Linked DNA regions of Homo sapiens: regions 1 and 3 are each linked to region 2. The links are contacts of gene promoters, found by promoter capture Hi-C in blood cells and fetal thymus (Javierre and others, 2016). All regions are on one chromosome and are shown on one strand. Each heading gives the region's core, a stretch centred on a gene start or on the middle of the fragment in contact. The rest is flanking DNA. Distances are from core to core; before and after follow the strand shown. Region 1 overlaps ZNF644 (zinc finger protein 644). Region 2 holds the start of BARHL2 (BarH like homeobox 2). Region 3 overlaps ZNF644 (zinc finger protein 644).

The links. Contacts are between HindIII fragments. The CHiCAGO score rates a contact against its expected background, and 5 or more counts as called.
Region 1: a contact is called between a fragment that was not itself captured here and the fragment with the promoter of BARHL2 in region 2, in 1 of 17 cell types (erythroblasts). The highest score is 5.1, in erythroblasts.
Region 3: a contact is called between a fragment that was not itself captured here and the fragment with the promoter of BARHL2 in region 2, in 1 of 17 cell types (erythroblasts). The highest score is 5.0, in erythroblasts.

What each region holds. Positions count from the first base shown.
Region 1 is chr1:90,943,450-90,946,939 of GRCh38, forward strand. The region is part of intron 2 of ZNF644 (zinc finger protein 644); the gene reads right to left. Among named protein-coding and RNA genes, the nearest start is that of ZNF644, 77 kb to the right of the region's middle. The HindIII fragment of the contact is 1,066 bases long and covers 1,146-2,211 here.
Region 2 is chr1:90,715,957-90,719,445 of GRCh38, forward strand. It overlaps BARHL2 (BarH like homeobox 2), which reads right to left and starts at 1,346. Exons shown (of 3, transcript NM_020063.2): 1 at 615-1,346. The coding sequence starts at 1,239. The HindIII fragment of the contact is 6,796 bases long and covers 1-3,489 here.
Region 3 is chr1:90,926,160-90,929,906 of GRCh38, forward strand. The region is part of intron 4 of ZNF644 (zinc finger protein 644); the gene reads right to left. Among named protein-coding and RNA genes, the nearest start is that of LINC01763, 76 kb to the left of the region's middle. RefSeq lists enhancers at 631-1,243, 1,345-1,951, 1,952-2,557. The HindIII fragment of the contact is 3,136 bases long and covers 327-3,462 here.

The sequences.
Region 1 (3,490 bases), core at 429-2,928, 230 kb after region 2:
AAAACAATAAAATAATAAAATTGTTCTTATATTTTTCTTATTTTATAACTTAGAACAAGCACTTATAATCTGATCTTATTCTTTCCATAAAATGTTATTTAATACAACAAATACCTATTACCAGTATCTTTGACATTGTTTTTTATACCAACAATCATTTTTTCCACCCCTCGTAGGTTTTAGAATTCTGTTTTGAGATTGGCAAACTTCTGTGGTAATAAAAATAGACTTCCAATAAGATCACATTTAATGATATCACTCCAAAATGGTGCTAATGCATCACCCAGCAGGAGTCTCTACATCACATACACAGAAGTTAAAAATGGGCAGCACATAAACATGTGTTAGGAAAGGGTGTGCAAATGTCAAGGGAAAGAAAAGCAAGCCTTAATGCTACACTACCATTCATTCCTGATATTTCTCATTAAATTAGGTAGAAAACATAAAACGCTTCAATAGCAACAATCTCATAAATCTGAAACGAACGACAAAAAACTAGCTTGAAAGACAGTTACTTTCCTTTCCGTTCCCACTTATTATAATCACAGAGGTGGACAAATATATGCTAAGTCAATTTGAAAGCCTATATTAGTTTTTCTCAACAGGAAGCAATGTTGCTAACGAAGTGGTAAATTCAGTGTTAATGAGTGGCTTCACTGTTACCACCTCAGAGGTAAAACCTTCCATGTTCTATGTTCCACCCATCTGTTCTGGTGTTAGAGGTTTAGAGATGGAACAGACGCTTCCCATTTAAAGCAACTTCATTGGTACCCCCTGAACAGCAGGGTGACAAACTATGAGAACATCATGTCAGCTTGGAGACTGCATCCTCATTACCGGAATGGCTTTATAAGAGCTTTTCATAAGGTCACATTCTGAAGATATCAACCTGTTTTGTTCAAAAACATAGAAAAAATATATGTGCATAACAGATATTTTATCTACAAAACACATCTAGCAAAAAAAAATCCGATTAAATATTGTTAAAATATAAAATGAAGTCTTTAACAATGAAAGTTTTCCTTCACATCCACATAATAAAATATGGCTTACTTACCCCTAAATTATTAATTATCTCTACTCAAAAATAAAAGATGTTACCTTCTGCATCAGTTTGAAAATATGTTACAAAAGTTGACTTAGGAAGCTTTCTAGGTCACTCGGTAATTCTGATTAGATACAACCTTCCTGTCATCAAATCTATACTGTCCATTTTCTGTTCATGAGTAATTCTTTACTGAGAGAAAATTAGCTTAATTTTGTTCTTTTATGTACATTATTAACTGCATTTACTACAAGTAGATTAACGTTTTGTGGGTACTTATTTTAGGAACAATTAAAATGTTCAGAATATATTCTAATTATACAATGCTCCAAATATACTTCTTCTTAGTAACAGTACTCAAGACTCATAGCTGTTGTGCTGAGATACAATGCAGAACCATGGATCATCAAAATCTGTTGCACTGAATAATTGATACAGAATTTTAACATCATCAAAAATTATTTTACTACATTCATGTTGGGTTATGTGGCATCTAGGCAAGAAAGCATTTGACTTGAGTTAATTTTACACCATCTCAAATAGTTTTTCAACTACCTTTGTATAGTCAAATGTATATATAACAGAGACATCAATACCAGTTTAGGTTACTATAACAAAGTAGGAACGTATTTGAAGGTGGGCATTATTCATTAAGTTTAAAAAACAGAAGCTAATAAATTAAGATAAATAAACTGATGTTTGGACTCCTTATATATCAATTAAGATTTTTAAACACTGTTTAGACACCATTACTAAATCTTCCCCATATAATCATATAACCATAGAATTTTTCTTTTAACTGGTTTTTAAAAGTCTAAAAAATTCACACACCTTTTTAAAAAGCTGCAAACAGAACTTTAAATCTACATAAAATATATTTCAATTTCTAGAAAATCATAATGAGTTCTACAGCTATAACTGCCTCTAGTTATATACTGTGAGCACTAAAAAAATTGTACAAAGGTCAGATCTGTCTTCAAGATGACAGATCATCACTTATATGCCTCAAGCTAGACTTATTGTCTCAGAAATCTCAAACATCAGTATTTTTGCAAACTATCAGCACTTGCTATAACACCCTCACTACACTACATCTTGAGGTTACTACAGAAGAAATGAGGTGATAATTGCATATTAACATAATTATTCTGTAATCCCTCTGAGCAAGCTTCCTAGGTCACTCAGTAATTCAGATTAGATACAACCTTTCTGTCATCAAATCTATGCTGTCCACTTTCTGTTCACGAATAATTCTTTTCTGATAGAAAATTAGCTTAATTTCATTCTTTTATGTACATTATTAATTGTATTTATTGCAAGTAGGTTAACATTTTGTGGGTACTTAACTACATAATGCCAACCTTTGTTGTGTTGTATAATTTCATGCAAAATATAGTACAATTTGCCCTCATTGTATATTAGTTCATTAATTGCTATATTACACAGCTATAAATAAATTATAATGCTGCCCACTAGCTGAATTATAGTTAGGATCTGTCAGGTTTTCACAAACCCTATGTTCATTTAAATTATCCTTGTGAACACATGACAACTTCAGTTAGTAATGTATGAGATTGGGTCAAGAAGAGAAAACAATTCACAAGTGTCAGTCTAACTGTAAAACAGATCTTAATTAACTGAAATATTATATTTAAAATTATTGTGGCATTTAAACCTATATATACCATACACAATGTACAAACATATATACCTAAATCTCACCTAGTGCACACTTCAAGAGAAGACAGAATGTATCATCCAGGTAATAACTTATTCTGGATGTCACATTGAGAAGAAACACTAAAAAAATACAGAACACTTGTAAGGGTGTCCAGCATGAGACTGACTTTAAAACCAAGCCAAATAATAAAATGGTTCAGAAGGTTAGACTGCTTACTTGTCAAGAACATTACAGACAGGAATATGGAGTTGAGGATTGAATAAGATGATTTCTAAGGTCCCTTCTAATATGTACTACAAATGTTTAGTACTTAGTTATTACATAATTAACATTTAACATTATTTGAAATAATGAGCAAAAAACTGAAGAATTACACTACTGAGCCTTAAAAGTATTCTTTAAATTCACAATTACCTGAAATAATCCTTTAGTTAACTTATGATCTGTCAATAAATTGATTGTTGAACAATGAAAATATGACATTAAATGACCAACACACTGCCACAGAGCTAACTGTATCATGAAAACTCAATGTTACAGCCAGAGATTTTTTTTTCCTTGGCAATACCAAAACACAAAACAAAACAAAAAAGGCACTGAGTTTGATATATAGATTGCCATTAAAAAAAAGCAAACAAATTACACTGAACCTGTTGAACAGCTTGTTCCTGATGCCATGTACCATCCTCACTTGTTAACAGGAAGGCAGATGTTACAAAGTCAGGTACCAGACCATAAACACCTAATAACTCAAGATCATTCTT
Region 2 (3,489 bases), core at 96-2,595:
TTGAGGCCATAGGGTAAGAAGGGTGCTTTTAAGAAACTTATTACAAATTTTTACGGGCTAACCACAATCTAATTTTTTTAAAGTTGCTCTGTTCATGAACTCAGAAATTTTTCCTCCATTAAAACCGATAATTCCTGTGATGATGTTAAGAAAATAAAGTGGGGGGGGGGTGAAATCACTTGTACTAAAGAATAAACACCAGGTTGTGATCACACCCACGCTAGCTAAGTGGTTTCTCTCTCCTACCTCCCCCCATTCCCATTCCCAAAGTCTAGGCTAGAAAAACCCCAAGTCCATCCCTTTTATCAACGAAAAGTATTTCCTGTCGGATGCCCTCCGCCGCCCCTCAACCCCCAGTAGATTAAAATTAAATAAAACAAAGGAAGGAGCTGGATGGCCGTGAAGGTTGTGGGGTAGAACAATAAACAGAACTTCGAGGAGTCCCCACATCGCACGCCCAGGCCTCCCTTCAGCTGCAGTCTTTTGACCGTCGCCCAGTCGCCCGAGAAGCTCCTGGAATCGCTCCCCAGCAGAGATCTGCTGAAGGCTGAAGGGGAGATTGGGAACCAGGAGGACAAGCTAGACGGCCGAGAGCGCCGGGTGGCGGGACTCACCGTGGCATTTGATGTCGCTCTGGGAATCCTCCCGCTTGTCGAGTTTGGTCTTGCTGTCCTCCTGCTCGAGCTTTGGCCTGAAGCTCTCGTGCACTGCGTTGCTCTCCTGCTTCGGGGTGTGGTGGGGAGAGGATACGCTGGTGCTGTAGGGTGCACATGCCGCCAGAGGTTTGCTGTCGCCCAAGATGTCCTTAATTAAAAAAGAAGACGTGGAAGTCCTGGGGGCCGAGGCGGCCGAGCCCAGCTGCTGGGGGGGCGGCGGCGGCGGCTGCTGTGGCGGCAGCGGCTGCTGCTGTTGGGGCAAAGGCTGCAAACTTTGCGTCGGGGCCGCGGCCGGCGGCGGCGGCTGCTGGCTGTGGTGGAGGTGGTGATGATGCTGGGTCGCGTCTGCTACCAGATGCGGCTCCGGGGGCTCCATGGTGACTGAGATAGGAGAAGAAGGCGCCGTCCCTACGGTATCAATCTCCGAACAGGGAGATGGGGTGGCCTGACTCCTAAAATCCGCGGTCCTGGCCTCACCGAGCGGGCGGAAATCTCCATTCATCATGCCTGGGCTGCCTGAACTGGCACTGGACAAAATCGTGTCTATTCCAAAACTCGACCCGCTGGCCCCTTCCATTGTCATTGCTACATGAGGTCCACGCCACTCCGCCGTTCAGCAGCCGCCCCGAACCAGCGAAGAAAGCTATCGATCGTAAAACAAAATAAACACCAAACAATGTTGCCGCCGCTTAAAAAAAAAAAAGTGGGGCGGGGAGAGAAGGAAGGGTAATTGGGAAGTGGCAATCTGTGGATACTTTCGACACAACTTTTTTTCTTTTATGCAAAAAGTAGGGGTGGAAAGAAAAAAGATGCGGGGGGCGGGGGGAGTTAAAAAAATTTCTGAGAAAACTCGGAACTTGCGCTCCAGGAACGACTGCGCACGTGGCGCGGCGGTGGCGGCGCGGAGGACCCAGGCGAAGGCGAAGGCGAAGGCGAAGGCGCAGGCGAAGGCGAAGGCGCAGGCGGCGGGAAGCTACGCCAAAGCCGCCGCCGCCGCCGCTGCCGGGGTCTGCCCACAGCCTGGCACCGGGCGGCAGCGGTGGCGGCGGCGGACGCGGCAGGTGCAGCGACCGCGAAGCCCGGGCGGCCGCGCGCCCTCGGAACTCCCCCGCGGCTCCCGAGGTGGCAGCCGCGCGCCACTCGGCAGCCCCGTAGCCGAGTTTCTGAACTTTCTTGGAAAGTTGCGGGGCAGACACGGCCGCAGCGGTTGCGGCAACCCGAGGAGGAGGAGGAAGAGGAGGACGACGAGAAGGAGCAGGCACAGAAGGAGGAAGCGGCGGAGACGCGATGCCGGGCGACTCCGGCCGCTGCCGGGCGCGTTCGCTTGTAATCCGGCTGCTGGCGGGCGGCGCCGACCCCCTCCCGTGACGTCACGGCCACTACCGCCGCTCCCCGCGCCGCGCCGCGCCGGGCCCGCGCCCCCGCCACCGAGGCCGCGCGTCCGGCCCCGCGCCCCTATTGGCCGCGCCCGCGCGAGCGAGGGACGCCGACGTGCCAGGGAGCCAATAGGCGCAGCGCTCGTGAGCCCGTCAGCGGACTCGGCTCGGACTCCGCTGCTCTTTTGAGAACCCGCACATCCCTGAGCCCGCAGCCCTGAGCCGAACTCCGAGTCCAGTGGTCCCGGTGTCCACAATCACGAGTGCGAGGCAAAGGGAGAGGGAGGAAGAGATCAGAGGGAGACCAGAGAAAGGGAACCAAAGGGGAGAAAGAAAAAAAAAAGTAGCAAGGATTCGCCCGTTTTCTTAAGTCAGAAGAGAGAGAGAAGAGGACGGGAAGGGACTTACCTTTAGGCTCCAGCGCGGCGGCCCTCGCAGCCTCCCCAAACGCGCGCGGGAATAGTCCGAAGACATTAAGAGCGGAGGAAGGAGATCCCTGAAGGAATCCACAGAAAAGTGTGTCACTTCAGGCGCCGGAGCCTTGCATAAGCGGGCGGGTCGGCTCTGGGCTCTGATTTCTCGCCCGACGAACCCAGGCGCTCGGGCTCAGCCCGGCGGGAGGCGGATCCCTGAGAGGGACACAGCCGGGTCCGCGTCCACCAGGCGCTCTCGGGGAGGACGAGGCCTGAGGCTCCAAGCTGGGGAACCAGCCTGGTCTCCAGCTGGAAAAAATGCCTGGCCAGACGCTTTCTCCCGAACGGGGGAGCTAATGCCCGAGGCGTTCTCTGGTGGCGAGGGCAGCCACGGTTCACTGCGGTGTCGGGCGGGCGCGGGGCTCAGGACCCATAGCGGCTGGTCTGCAGCCCGCGCCCCTGCCGCGCCCCGCGGCAGTCCGTCCACCTCTGTCCCCCGGCCCCTTTCGGCGAGCGCTCATTTGGAAAGGAAACAGTCACTGCGGATCCACTTGGGACCCGGAGCATGACTGTAACGCCTCGTTGGAGTGTATCAACTTGCATTATTTTCTCTAGGACGTCTCCAACCTGTCTCATGTTGAATGTCAGAGTAATGGGAAGTGCCAGTGACAAGACGGCGTATTACTCCTGATTAAGTGCCGTGTCAACCTAATTAGCAGAGTAATTATAAGGTGCTAATGAATGATTCAAAGTTCTTTGAGTTACATTTTACTCCAAATTACCATTTTAAGAACCCTATGAATCTGCGAGGCGGGCATCGCTTCCGTGGCTAGGTCTGGAATGATGTTCGAGTGGCCTTTAATGTCTCCAAAGGCTGGGCCGAAATCTGGAGTTTAGTTGCAGTTCTGGAGGTCACTTTCTGGGCCACAGCTTTTATCTGTTGAGGACGAAGGGAGGGGTGTCAGGGAGGCAAATGACCTCCTGGGACAAGCTCTTGCCTTTCGGTCGGAACTGCTTCTGTGTGAGCCCTGGGTCCGGAAGCGG
Region 3 (3,747 bases), core at 645-3,144, 210 kb after region 2:
TCACCAACTGGTTCTAGCTGGTCCATGAAGGCTGCACATAGGATGCCTATGAACTCTGTTTCACCTTTTGACATGTAAACCTTAATTTTACTATGATTAAATGTTAGGTCTCCAACTCAAAGTGAACATGGGATGTATGTAACATGGAGTGTGCACACTAAGCTTGTGTGCACCCCCTCATGAATATTCATAGCTCCTCCTATAATCTGTTGAATATGTATACTTAGCCAACCCATTCAACATAACTTCCTGTCTCACCCTTCCTCCTTTGAAGGGCTTGCTTTTGGTCTCTGTCTGAGGATACACTTCCAAGCCTGCAGGCTTCAAGCTTCCTAAGAAATAAAGCTCTCTTTTCCAAATTTGTAGATCTCCTGCTTTTAAGGTGATACTTTGTTATAGTGGATAGCTGGATGTTGAAGTGTTGCTAGTAAATGACAGAGAAGTAATGAAGCCTGCCCTTCTACCAGACAGCATGGTAGCAGATTGATTAACTGTACTGGTATAACCATCCTCCTCCCACTCAGATTTAAAATCTTGAGTCATCTCTTAACTCTAATCTACCATATCCTGCTTATTTTATTTCCATAATATTACCCATACATCTAGTACCCCTCCTTTACATTCTTAATGTCACTGACCTGGTACAGGACTCTTAAAATGATCTACCCTGCAATTTTTCCTCCTCTCTGCCAAATCCTTTATTTAAAAAGCAATTTCAAAAGCATTACACAAATTCTGCATTCAAATAGTTCCCCACTACAAAGTTAATTCCAACATCTTAGACTAGCGTTCTATGTCATCTATCTGACTCACTTTACCAGTCCAACTCAATTCCCTTACCTCCTACTTCCTAGTATTTCCTATAAACTTCCCACATTGTTCCACCTTGCTCCCTCTTTCAGGCATTTCTCTTCCCCACCCCGACCCCCATTTCCATTTCAGTTAGCTATACATCAGGGTCCATTCAAATGCTAATTCCAAAAGCCTTGGGAGTTCCTAGTCTAGCTGAAAGTGTCTTCCTCTTTCTCTGAAATTCCACAGTATTTCACGCATACCTCTCCAATGGCACTTAACAATTTGTCTTGTATTACAGTTATGCATATATGTGCTTCTACTGTATTGTAAGATCCAATGTATCTCTGCATACTTAGCACAGTTGGAGGTGAAAAAAGTGCTTGTTGAATTAGTGAAAAAATCAGCCGATCATTTTTTTGTATGGTGGAGAAATAGCCTAATTCTTGCTGGAATAATAAAACAATTAGTAGAGTATCTATAAGGGTTACCCAAAATACTCGATTAAATTATATCCAAGCTACTCAAGGCAAAAATAAGAACAACATTTTGGAGCAATAACCACCAAAATGGTTAGGAAAAATCAAGTTATTAACAGTTAAAGGACTATTCTTCAGTCACCTAGAGAATTTACTCAACTCAGATAATTCGTTACCTTGCTAATCACTTATAAATGATACGTTACTGTGCAGATAAATGTATACACATATATGCTCTTAATGAAGAACAATACTATAGAAATAAGTTATAGCTAAGAAATATAAAGACCCATCTTTTCTCTGTCTCATGAAAGGCTTTTTAAAATATAAGTTTAACCATACCATTCCCTTATTTTTCTTCTCTCTCTCTCTGCCCTCCCTCTCTTCCTCCCTCCTTCACTTCCTTCTTTCCTTCCTTCCTTCCTTCTTTGGAGATGGAGTCTTGCTCTGTTGCCCAGGCTGGAGTGCAACAGCATGATCTCAGCTCACTGCAATCTCCACCTCTCAGGTTTAAGCGATTCTCCTGCCTCAGCCTCCTGAGTAGCTGGGATTACAGGCGCCCACCACCACGCCTGGCTACTTTTTCGTATTTTTTAGTAGAGACGGAGTTTCACCATGTTGGCCAGGCTGGTCTCAAACTCCTGACCTCAGGTGATCCGCCTGCCTCGGCCTCCCAAAGTGCTTGGGATTACAGGTGTTAGCCACGGCACCTGGCCTATTTTCCTTTTGTATTTATTTATGAGACGGAGTCTCACTCTGTCGCCCAGGCTGGAGTGCAGTGGCGCAATCTTGGCTCACTGCAACCTGCACCTCCCAGGTTCAAGCAATTCTCCTGCCTCAGCCTCCTGAGTAGCTCAGATTACAGGCGCGCACCACCACACTGGGCTGATTTTTTTTTTTTTTTTTTGAGGAGTTTTGCTCTTGTTGCCCAGGCTGGAATGCAATGGCACAATCTCGGCTCACTGCAACCTCCAGCTTCTGGGTTCATGCAATCCTCCTGCCTCAGCCTCCTGAATAGCTGGGATTACAGGCGCATACCACCACGCCTGGCTAGTTCTTTGTATTTTTTTTTAGTAGAGGCAGGGTTTCACCATGTTGACCATGATGGTCTCACGCTCCTGACCTCAGGTGATGTGCCTGCCTCAGCCTCCCAAAGTAATGGGATTACAAGTGTGAGCCACCACGCCCGGCCTCCTTATTTTTAAAACATCCTTTAATGACTTCCTAATTTTTTTTACCAAGCATTCAAAGCACCAACCCCACCTTTCTGGCACTACAATTTTACCAAACATCTGTAACCAAATCTTCTGACACTTGAACTCCAAGTTCCACTCCTGACACTTGAAGTCCAAATTTCATCCCTTTGTGTCCACACTATGTTCTTCTCTGCCTGAAATATTCTACACTTCATCTCGTCTTCCTAAAACTCTACTGCATCCTTCAACTTCAGGGTCTGGCTGAAACCATATAAACCCTTCTGTAATGGCATACTTGATCTTTTCCCACTGGGTTATATTATGTTTATGCAGCTGGAGTGCAGTATCTTTACTGGCTCAGCGATGAACAGTCTTGGTACAAGAACTCAAACTTTTGTTGAATGAATAAAATTTTGTATGGCTGCTGGTTTTGTTGTTCTCTTGCATTTAAAAAGTCACAAGAAGCATACCAGCATGAACTACTTTTATTTATTTATTTTTTCTGTTTTTTACAAGCTCTAATTCAATGAGACAAACAGTAAGGGCATCAGAAAAAAAAGGAATCTCAATTCCCAGCTGCCCTCAAAAGGAGGCTTAGACTAAAATAATCAACCTGAACTCCTACAACACTTAAAGCCAATATGCCATTTAGTTGTATACTATCTTGCATAGTTTTCAATTTTTGATAGTTTTATGTATGTTGTCAACAATCCTTTCCTAATTTCTCTGACAGCAGAGACATGTCTCATACTTTTCACATACCCTCCTCAGCCCAGTCTGGAAGAATTGTCAAGGAGTTTGCTTTAAGCAGAAGCAAGTTTGCTCATTTGGAGTTTAATCTTAATAAGAAGATCAAAATTTTCTACTTACACTCTTTCAGTCTGAATGAACCACTATGAAAACATGCAATTTTTCAAACATGCAATACTATATTATTTTTAAAAGACACTACAGTGACACTCATGAATGAACAAATAATTTAATGCACATTGGGAAGCTTTCACAATACTATTTTTTCTATCACATCAGAAAGTGCTCCCATAGCACTTTCCACAACATAAGAATGACTTTTCTAGTGGCTTACAAACCCATTCAGCACTTGATACTGTGCTATATGTTCATTAGTACTTGTTACAGTCCTGTGTGGCCAATTATATCATTAAAGCTGAAAACAGGCAAAAGAAACCTACTACGATTACACTTAAAAGTAAATGGTATGAAAAATAAAACACTGACTTGATTTTTTAAAAACGTTAATATATTGCACTAGTGGTATTGAC